Regions from separate parts of the Homo sapiens genome. Here region 2 is linked to region 1. The links are contacts of gene promoters, found by promoter capture Hi-C in blood cells and fetal thymus (Javierre and others, 2016). All regions are on one chromosome and are shown on one strand. Each heading gives the region's core, a stretch centred on a gene start or on the middle of the fragment in contact. The rest is flanking DNA. Distances are from core to core; before and after follow the strand shown.

Region 1 (4,431 bases), core at 624-3,123:
ACTCAGGATTGCAGAAGCCTCGTTAATGGGATCTAGAGATGCGAAGAACTGGCCGGCCGAGGGCTGCAGGCCTGAGAGGTGCACCCCGGCGGGCCGCCCACCGGTTAGCAGGGAAGTGAGATCTGGGGACAAGGGAAAAGGATAGCAGGTTACATCTCGGGCACACTCACACTCTCCGCTGATTTGTTCCTCCCCTTCCCCTTGCCCTGGATTCACTTTTATTGAGCGAAGTCAAGAGAGAACCCGTCTAGGCGCTGAAACCTCTCTCTCCCAACAGTTGCCAAGGAGCGACGCACGAAAAGTTCCTGTGTGTCCCTCACGTCCATATGCATGTATATAGTAAGTAAAGGCTTTACATAAATCGGCTTACGGCCTCACTTTCACGTGTCTTCCAAGAACGCCACAGACGCAAAACCTCCGCCCCAAGGTGGCCCCACTCTGCCCGCTCATCTAGGCGGTTTTGTTTATTATTTACATTTCCTGGGTGAAATTTTTACTAGAAATCAGATAAGTGCGAAAGTGTTTCCCAAAAATGCTTTAGCTGTCAGAAAATATAATTCTGTCTCTAGATACATTATTAAAGAGATCAAAGTCATGTTAGCAGATAATTACACCAACCACTTTTATAAATATTGATTCTAAGACGTGTTTTTAAAGAATCCCTGGAGTCATTTTTTGTTTGTTTTACATAGAACAGGTGAGTTTTAGACCTAATGTTTTGTAGTTTTCTTACAATTCGTTTTCTTCTCTCCCGTTTTACCGATTTGTCCTTAATTGTAAAAACACTCAAAGGCACCCCAAGCCAGCCCGGGGTCCGGGGAGTGGGTCAGTGGTCAGAGGCCTGCAGCCTCCCGCCCAAGACCTACCTCTCAGCGTGTTGCCTTCTTTGACTTTTGGGTCAAATTCTGCAGATAAAATGCGGTCAATTCCAAATTTGAGGTCTTTGCTGGAGGGGGCCGGGGCAGAGCCACTGTGGTGGGGGTTCGGAACCACTCGCGTCCCCGAGGCCGGGGGCTGCAGGGCGCCAGCCCGGGGCGGAGGCGGAGGCTGTTGCTGCTGCGGCTGTTGCTGCTGCTGTTGTTGTTGCGGGTGATGGTGGTGGTAGGCGGCTGAGAGCGGAGACAGCCGCTGCGGGAAGCCAGCCGGGACTTCGGAGGGCGCCACCACTGGGGTGGGTCGAAGCGGGGATCTGGCCGCCGCTTGGAAAGAGGCGTGCGGGTGAACCGAGCCCAAGTGCGCGGTGAGGGCGGCGGCCGAGGCCCCTGCCAGGCCCTCCGGGGCCGCCCCCAGATCCCCCACGCCGGCGTGCAGAATGTCTGCGATGCAGAAGGAGGGCTTTTTGACGGCGGCGGGGTCCAAGGGGAAGGAGCAGCCGCCTGGGCCGGCCGAGGAGCAGTAAGCGGCCGACCAGAGGCTGAAGTTGGAGGCGTAGAAGGGAGCCAGCCCGGCTGCGAACATCCTGCCGGGGTGAGCCGCGCGGCTGCCGCAGTCCAGCCGGACTGGGTGGGTGGGCGCGCGGGGAGGGGCGCGCGAGTCCCGGAGAAGGCGGCGGCAGCCGAGGACGATCCGCTTTCGCTTCTCCGCCCGCACTGAGGAAGAGAGGCCGGGAGCCCTAGCGCCACCGAGGGAGGAGGCGAGGGCCGGATCTCGGCCGGTCACCGCCTCGCTCCCTGGCCTCGCTTTAAAGGCGGCGCGGCGCCCGCACTCCTCGCGGGCTGGATGAGAGCGAGGGGCGCTGGGGCCGCAGGGCGGGCGGGGGAGCCAGGGAGACGGGAGCCGGACACCGCAAGAAAACCCAAATAGCTAAGCCCTAAGAGCTAAATTTAAAACAACAACAATAATAGTCCGTTAGTTAGGGGGGGGGAAAAGTAATAGAAAAAAAAAAAAACTCGTCTCTAAAAACTCCCAAAGTTTTGGCAGGAGCTTTCGAGTCAGGCCCGGGGTAGGACCTCGATCCGAGCGCTCATTGGTCATCCTCGTGACCAATGGGAGCGGGGAGTGGAGGGGAATTAGGAACAAGGGGGCCTGGCCGGACCCTAGCCACGCCCCGGCCACGCCAAAGTTTTTGCTGCGGCCGCGTGGGCTTAGTAGCGCACATCGCAGTGCTTCTTGCTACTCTGCGTAGGGGCCAGGCAGCCGCTCCGGAGGGCTCTGACTCTCTTCTAACTTCTGCAGCTCCGAACCGCCACGGGGCAAGGAGGGTTGATCACAGGAGCTTTCCTGAAGCGCTTGTCACCCGGGGCGAGTTGGGGGCGTGGGGAAGGGACGGTAATCTCACTCTTTAGGGCTCTGCAAAGCCCGCCTCCCGGTGGAGAGCGGAGCGCGCTTTGGCCCCTTTGCTTCCCTTCTCTTGACCTCATTCTGCTTTTATTCCAGGAGTCCGTGTCCTCGGCAAAGCCCCTCATCTTTCCTGGGCCCTTGCCCAAATGTTGCCGCCCTGAGTCCCGGCCCAACTCAGCACCGCGTCCGCCTCGTGCCTCCCAGGAGATCCTCCGGGAAGCGAGGAGGAGGGGCGGCCGCAAATTGGTTTTATTCTGAGCTGTCACACAGTGACAAATTGAACGAGTGACTTTTCAAACAAAATAAGACGGATGGCTCCAAACGTCTCTCTTAGACGCAGCCAAACCTTTCCCCGGAGCCTCAGAGGCTACAAAACAGGCTGCCTCCCGAAACCCGGGAGAGCGGCACGCGCTTCCATCCTTTGCAGGAGGTTGTAGGAAATGTTAGCCTCACCCCTCCACCACATCTCCGGATCACGTGGGGTTCGTTGTTTTGCAAGTGCCCACAAGAGCAGATTTCCGTGGGGTTCAATACTGCTTTCAATTCTGTGACAGCTTCCCCAGGAACCCCTTGGGCCTGGTTGCAGGAGGAGCTGCGTGGTGGTCAACGTCTTCCATTCGTGCCTTGGGTCTTTAGAACGCAGGGTAGTGGTGGTGGAGGTTTTGTGCAACATCGACATATCTATTTTAAGAATTTCTTCTCTTTAAATTATAGTCAGAATGAATTTCCCCACCCCTCTCCCAAACAAACCACAGGCCACCCAGATGAGCTGTTCTTGCACATTTTCAGGAAGAAAATAAAATAATACGAATAATGAAACCACGAAAACTTTTGTTTTCGATTGCCCTAATAAGCATCTCCTAACAGGGATTCTGTGACATTTTTATTTCCCTTCAGCACGAAGGCTCCTCACCAAATAAACCCAGAAAAGCAAGTGAACTTGCCATGCCTATCTCGAGTTCAGGGTTTGGGCTTATAAAATTAATTTCTGGTGTTTTCTCTAGCCCCTTGATGCAGATGCTATCCTTTTAAGCTTTTGACTTTCTCCTGGAAAATTATCAATCACTTCTGATCAGCCAGCACTAAGATCTCTCCCTCTCCCTCTCTCTCTCCCTCCTCCCGCCCTCCAGCTCTCCCGCTCTCGCTCTCCATCTCTCTTTTACTGAAAGGTTTTCTTCCCCTGCTCCACGCAACCAGGAGAGAGGTGCTATTTCCAGAGATAGATGGGTGTGTTTGGCTGAAGGTAGGGGTACCTGGGGCGAGAGACGTATTAAGACCAGTTTTTCTGTGTCAAGGTGAAGGCAAAGGAGCGACAAGTACAACATGGGCAATTGAGGCGCTGGCTGAGGGTTCTGGTGAGCCTTCGGTGGGAGTGTGCGTAGCGGAGGCCGTGAGCCCTCTGCTTTCTAGTGCCACTTCCAGTTTGATTGCGTTTCTAATTTGACTGCAAACATTTAGACCTCAGCCTAAGCCCAAACTCACGGTTGTGAAAGAGGTGCATTTACTCCTTACCCGAGGCAGCGCCGCGCGCCCTCACCCTCTCTCTTAAGAAATAAGACTCCCCTATCAGCTTTCACCCTTTCCAAGGTTTGCGACGCTCCGGGGTGGGCACGGGATACAGACCCGGGGGAATGCGAGTCCTCAGGGTTCCCTAGGTGCCCACAACTCGCATCTGCCGAGATTCAAGGCCCGGAGCGCTGGGCAGATGCGGCGAAAGCGAGGCCCCGAGGCCCGCCGACTCCTCGCGGCGCCGCGAGCCTCCCTTTCTCCGCCAGGCCCGCGGCTGGAGTGCAAGTTGCAACTTCGCCTGCGCGCCCCTTGCTCTCCCAGGCCTCAGCTTCCTCGCAACCGCGTCGGCGCCATCCAAGGCCTTACTCCCAGCTCCCGGAGGCAAACGCGAAATACAAGTCTTTGGAGCGACCCCCGCCGCCCCCTCTACCCCTTCCCCAGGCCCAAGCCTGGCCCCTGCAGGCCCCTCGCCGAGTTCTGAGCCCGCAGACTCCCGCCCTCCTTACTCCCCACTCTTCAGAACCAAGAAAGCAGCAGGAAACCCTGGGCTCGCCGGAGTTCAGGTCATCTCCTGTTTTTTGATGGGCTCAAACTCGGGACTAAATGAGCGGATGTGCCTGCGAGATTGGTCTCAAAATAGAA
Region 2 (4,431 bases), core at 780-3,279, 1.6 Mb before region 1:
TTGGCTTACATCCACTCTCTCAGTGAGAGCTGTCCTGATCCCCTGTTTACAGCTGCACCATCCTCCTTATTCTGCTCTTTTTACTCCATACTACTTAACCTTCTTTTGTAGTAGATAATGCGCTTATTGTTTTTTATTCTTCATGTATCTCTCCCTAATAGAATATCAGCTCTTTGAGGGCTAAGGCTTTGATCTGTTTTATTCACTGTTGTCTTCTCAACACCAGAATACTCTCTGGCTCATAGTAGATGCTCAACAAATGTTGAAATGAATGACATCTCTGATGATGCTCATTTAGTAAATTAAGAGAAAAGAGAAATCAGGGAAGTGCTTTGGGAGCTGTCTTCTCATCATTTTGCCTTATATTCACTTGCGTTGCCTCTCCGTCTACATTGGAATTTTGCATCACCCTTCGATTCTGCAGCTTATCTGGTTCTCTCCTTCTCCTGCTTCCCCGGCCCATTGCTCTGAGATTTACTGCCTGTCGTCCCTCCTCAGCTCCGGGAACCTTCAGTGCCTTCTCACTGTACTCTGGGTAAAGGTCAAACTCCTCAGTAATTTCATCTTTCATATACAAACTTTCCCTCCCTCTCAAGCTACCTGCAGGTACTTTCATCTCTCATCGCACATGGTTCCTTCCACCTGAAACATATAAGCCTGATTTTAATGTCTTATGTTGTCTTGGCAAGAGCCTTAGAGAGCTGGCTTATTTTCCATCTCAGAGGCGATTTTGAGGAGTGTATTAGTTTGCTAGGGCTGCTGTAACAAAATACCTCACACTAGGTGACTTAAACAACAGAACTGTATTATCTTCTAGCTCTGGAGGCTAGAAGTATGAAATCAAGGTGTTGATAGGGCTGGTTCCTTCTGAGGGCAGTGAAGGAAGGATCTCCTTGGCTTGTAGATGGCCATTTTCTCCTTGTGTCTCCTCACATCATCTTCCCTCTATGTATAGCTCTGTATCCAAATTTCTCCTTTTTATAAGGACACCAGTCAGATTGGGTTAGGGCCCACCCTACTGACCTCACTTTAACTTGATTACCTATGAAAAGACTCTTTCCAAATAAGGTCACATTCTTAGGGACTGGGTCTTAGGACTTCAACAAATGAATTTTGAATTTCCCTTCTTCCATTCCCTTGAGTTGGCACAGCACCACCCTCGACCCCTCCTCCCAATACTGATGCACGTTATCTCCCAGCAGCAGGAGGTAGCATGTGATAGACAAATGGAACCTCTCCTCTTTTCAATTCCAATTTCTGTACTGTAAGAAAAAGGACACAAAGTTAAATGGTAAGATGAAATAAAGATAAAGTAGACATCCTATAAAGACTGTAAAATGGAGGTGATAATTTTGGCCTCTCTGTTTCAGAGCATTTTGAGGGATTCAACACAATAGTGAACCTGAGAGTGCTAGGAAACTGTGAAATGCCAGAAACGAACATAAAAGGGAATGTTCTTCAAAGGTTGAGCATTTACTTCTGGTCTATGGTCAACCCTCAGCAGAAAACCACGTGGAGAGATTCCAGCTTCTGGCACTGCCAGGAGGGAAGGCATCCCACGGTCCAGTTTTGTTGGGAGGGAAAGGAGATGAAAACTAGTAAGTCCCAGCCACATCCCTCAGCTGTTTTGTGTGTTAAAGGGACTTCTTTTTGCCTTAAGAAGATAGTTGCTTTGCTTTCTCACCTCCTTCACCCTCATTCTGTCCTTTGTCCCCTGCCTACATCCTCTCCCCTTCCCCATAGAATCCCTGGTATCCCTGAGGTGGTGGGAAACAGAAGACAGCCCAGGAAGGCTCTCCCACCCACTTGGTGTAGGGGCTGTCTGGCTCTCCTCTGAGTCATTGTCCCACGTGCATCCTCTCCTCCTGGGAGCAGACCTTCTACTGTCCTGTCCAAAGTCAGACTCAAGGTCAGAGGGTATGAGGATGTAAGGGCCAGAAGGAACCTTTGAGCTTATCTAGTGCCAGAAAAAAGCTGCGACTTCATGAGAAGAAGGAACTTGAACTTCATCATGGGTGAAATGATGTGCTAGGAACATTTCTAATCTTTTCTACTAGCTATTTTGAAATATACAATACATTATTGATAATTATAGTCACCCTACTGTGCCATCGAACACTAGAACTTATTCCTTCTATCTAACTGTATGTTTGTACCCATTGACCAACTGTATTAGTCTGTTCTCATGCTGCTATACAGAGCTGCCCGAGACTGAGTAGTTTACAAAGGGAAGAGATTTGATTGACTCACTGTTCCACAGGGCTAGGGAGGCCTCAGGAATTTACAATCATGGCAGAAGGGGAAGCAAACAAGCAAACATGTCCTTCACATGGCAGCAGGAAGGAGGAGTGCCGAGCAAAACTGGGGAAAAGCCCCTTATAAAACTATTGGATCTCATGAGAACTCACTCACTATCACGAGAATAGCATGAGGGTAATCATCTCCATGATTCAGTGACCTCCCATGAGGTCCCTCCCCCAACACATGGGGATTATAATTTGGATTACAACTCAAGATGAGATTTGGGTGGGGACACAGAACCAGAGTATATCACCAACCTCTCTTCAGTCCCCCTTCCCAGCCTCTGAAAATTACTTAACTTTTGAAGCTCCTGTTCACCTGGGAAGTGGAGCTAGGAGGGTACACACTTTCAGGATATAATGTGCTGCTGGGTGCAAAGAGGTCAGCACAGGTCCAGCCTCACCTCCCTTCAGGGACTGCCCACCTGGACCTGTGCGGCCAGGTTCACTTTCCTGCCTGCCCTTCGATTATGGTAGAGGAGCTTTATCTCTCCCCAGTGAGAGCCCTCTTTTTTTTTTTTTTTTTTTTTTTTTTTTTTTTTTTTTTTTTTTTTTTTTTTATGAGACAGAGTCTTGCTCTTGTCGCCCAGGCTTGAGTGCAGTGGCATGATCTCAGCTCGCTGCAACCTCTGCCTCTGGGTTCAAGCAATTATCCTGCCTAAGCCTCCTGAGTAGCTGGGATTACAGATGCCTGCCACCATGCCCGGCTGATTTTTGTACTTTTAGTAAAGACGAGGTTTTGCCATGTTGGTCAGGCTGGCCTCAAACTTTTGACTACAGGTGATCTGCTCACCTCGGCCTCCCAAAGTGCTGGGATTACAGGCATGAGCCACCAAGCCTGGCCCAGTCCTCTCTTCCCTCTGAGGACCCCTGCAGGACCACTATGCCCTTTATCCCTGGGACACTCAACCTCTCATGCTCAACTGGATCCTTCCCGTCTGCTTCTGTGTCTCTCTCGTGGAAAATAAAATAAAATAAAATAAAAACTGCCCTTCAACTCCAGTGAGTTGTCCCCACACATTCACTCTGACCCTTACCTTTCACACATTCCACTTGCCCCATCTGTCTTCTGGCCCTACAGCTCCACCAAAATGACCCTCATTGGCACTAGGTAAGCTCTATGTGGGTGAAGCCTTGGTGTCTTGGCAGCACGTGGTGCCGATGACTGCTTTTCCTCCTAAAACTCTCTCTTCCACTGCCTTCCTGACCCATACATACCCCAAGGGCCTGCCCACCTCCCAGGAACCCACTTCTCAGCTTTGCAGACTCACCTTCCATGAGAGCAGAGGGTGAGCACACAAGGCCCTGGGGGCCAGCCTGCTCATGTCTCAGTTCTGGCTCTGCTCCGCCAGTTTGGGGATTAAGTGATCAGCCAATCCTGATGCGGTCTCTGCTCTAGCCAAGCATACAGACTAGTAGGAAAACAGACATTATTCAGAAAATGGGTGGACTGTGGGGACCAGTGCTAAGGAAGAGGAACAGGCAGTACAGTCTACTCAGATTCCTCATTTATAAAATGGGAATGATGATGGTAATAACTATAATACCATCTCATGTGGGGACTTGTGAAGAATAAATGAAATGAAGCATGTAAACACTTTATGCAGAGCCTCGCATCTGGAGAGTAGTAAGTGATATAAATTACTTTTATTGTTAGTTGTATCTTAGAGTGCTGCACGAAGCTCTCCTGTTGTAGAAATAGGGGTGACAGGAGGCATAGAAAAGGGTGAAGAATATGGGACTCATAAGGCCAAAGCTTCTCTCAGTCACCTGCTGAGTGAGACATTAACACTCTTCTTTGGGAGCTGAAATAGAAGCCAGTGAGTCATGTTCAGAAAGGGGAGATTCTCTCACCTCCGGAAAAGCTACAGATTAGAATTAACCTTATTAAAGTCAAACAGGGCAAGCATTCAACGAGGCTAAGGAGAAGATAGTCTTTCAGTAGACACAGCTGTCTTCTGTCATGTTCCCTGCTCTTTGCAGCTTTTGGTAGAAGTTTCCAACCCATATGTACCACAGGAGAGTGGGATGGGATTTCAATACTTCTTGGTGGTAGAATGAGATGCTGGGAATGGTCAGTTCAGGGACTGCAGGACAGTTGAGACAGTCAGAAAGTTCCAGGAAATTAATC

Evidence for each region. The method cuts DNA at HindIII sites, captures the fragments that hold promoters and counts their contacts. A CHiCAGO score of 5 or more calls a contact.
Region 2: a contact is called between a fragment that was not itself captured here and the fragment with the promoter of HLX in region 1, in 3 of 17 cell types (M0 macrophages, naive B cells and total B cells). The highest score is 5.7, in M0 macrophages.

The regions. Positions count from the first base shown.
Region 1 is chr1:220,876,885-220,881,315 of GRCh38, reverse strand. It overlaps HLX (H2.0 like homeobox), which reads right to left and starts at 1,873. Exons shown (of 4, transcript NM_021958.4): 1 at 867-1,873; 2 at 1-122. The coding sequence starts at 1,458. HLX-AS1 (HLX antisense RNA 1) reads left to right here and starts at 1,176. Exons shown (of 3, transcript NR_046901.1): 1 at 1,176-1,467. RefSeq lists an enhancer at 540-1,148 and a silencer at 2,267-2,316. The HindIII fragment of the contact is 7,579 bases long and covers 1-3,315 here.
Region 2 is chr1:222,459,570-222,464,000 of GRCh38, reverse strand. No RefSeq gene overlaps it. Among named protein-coding and RNA genes, the nearest start is that of TRT-TGT2-1, 3.2 kb to the left of the region's middle. The HindIII fragment of the contact is 4,058 bases long and covers 1-4,058 here.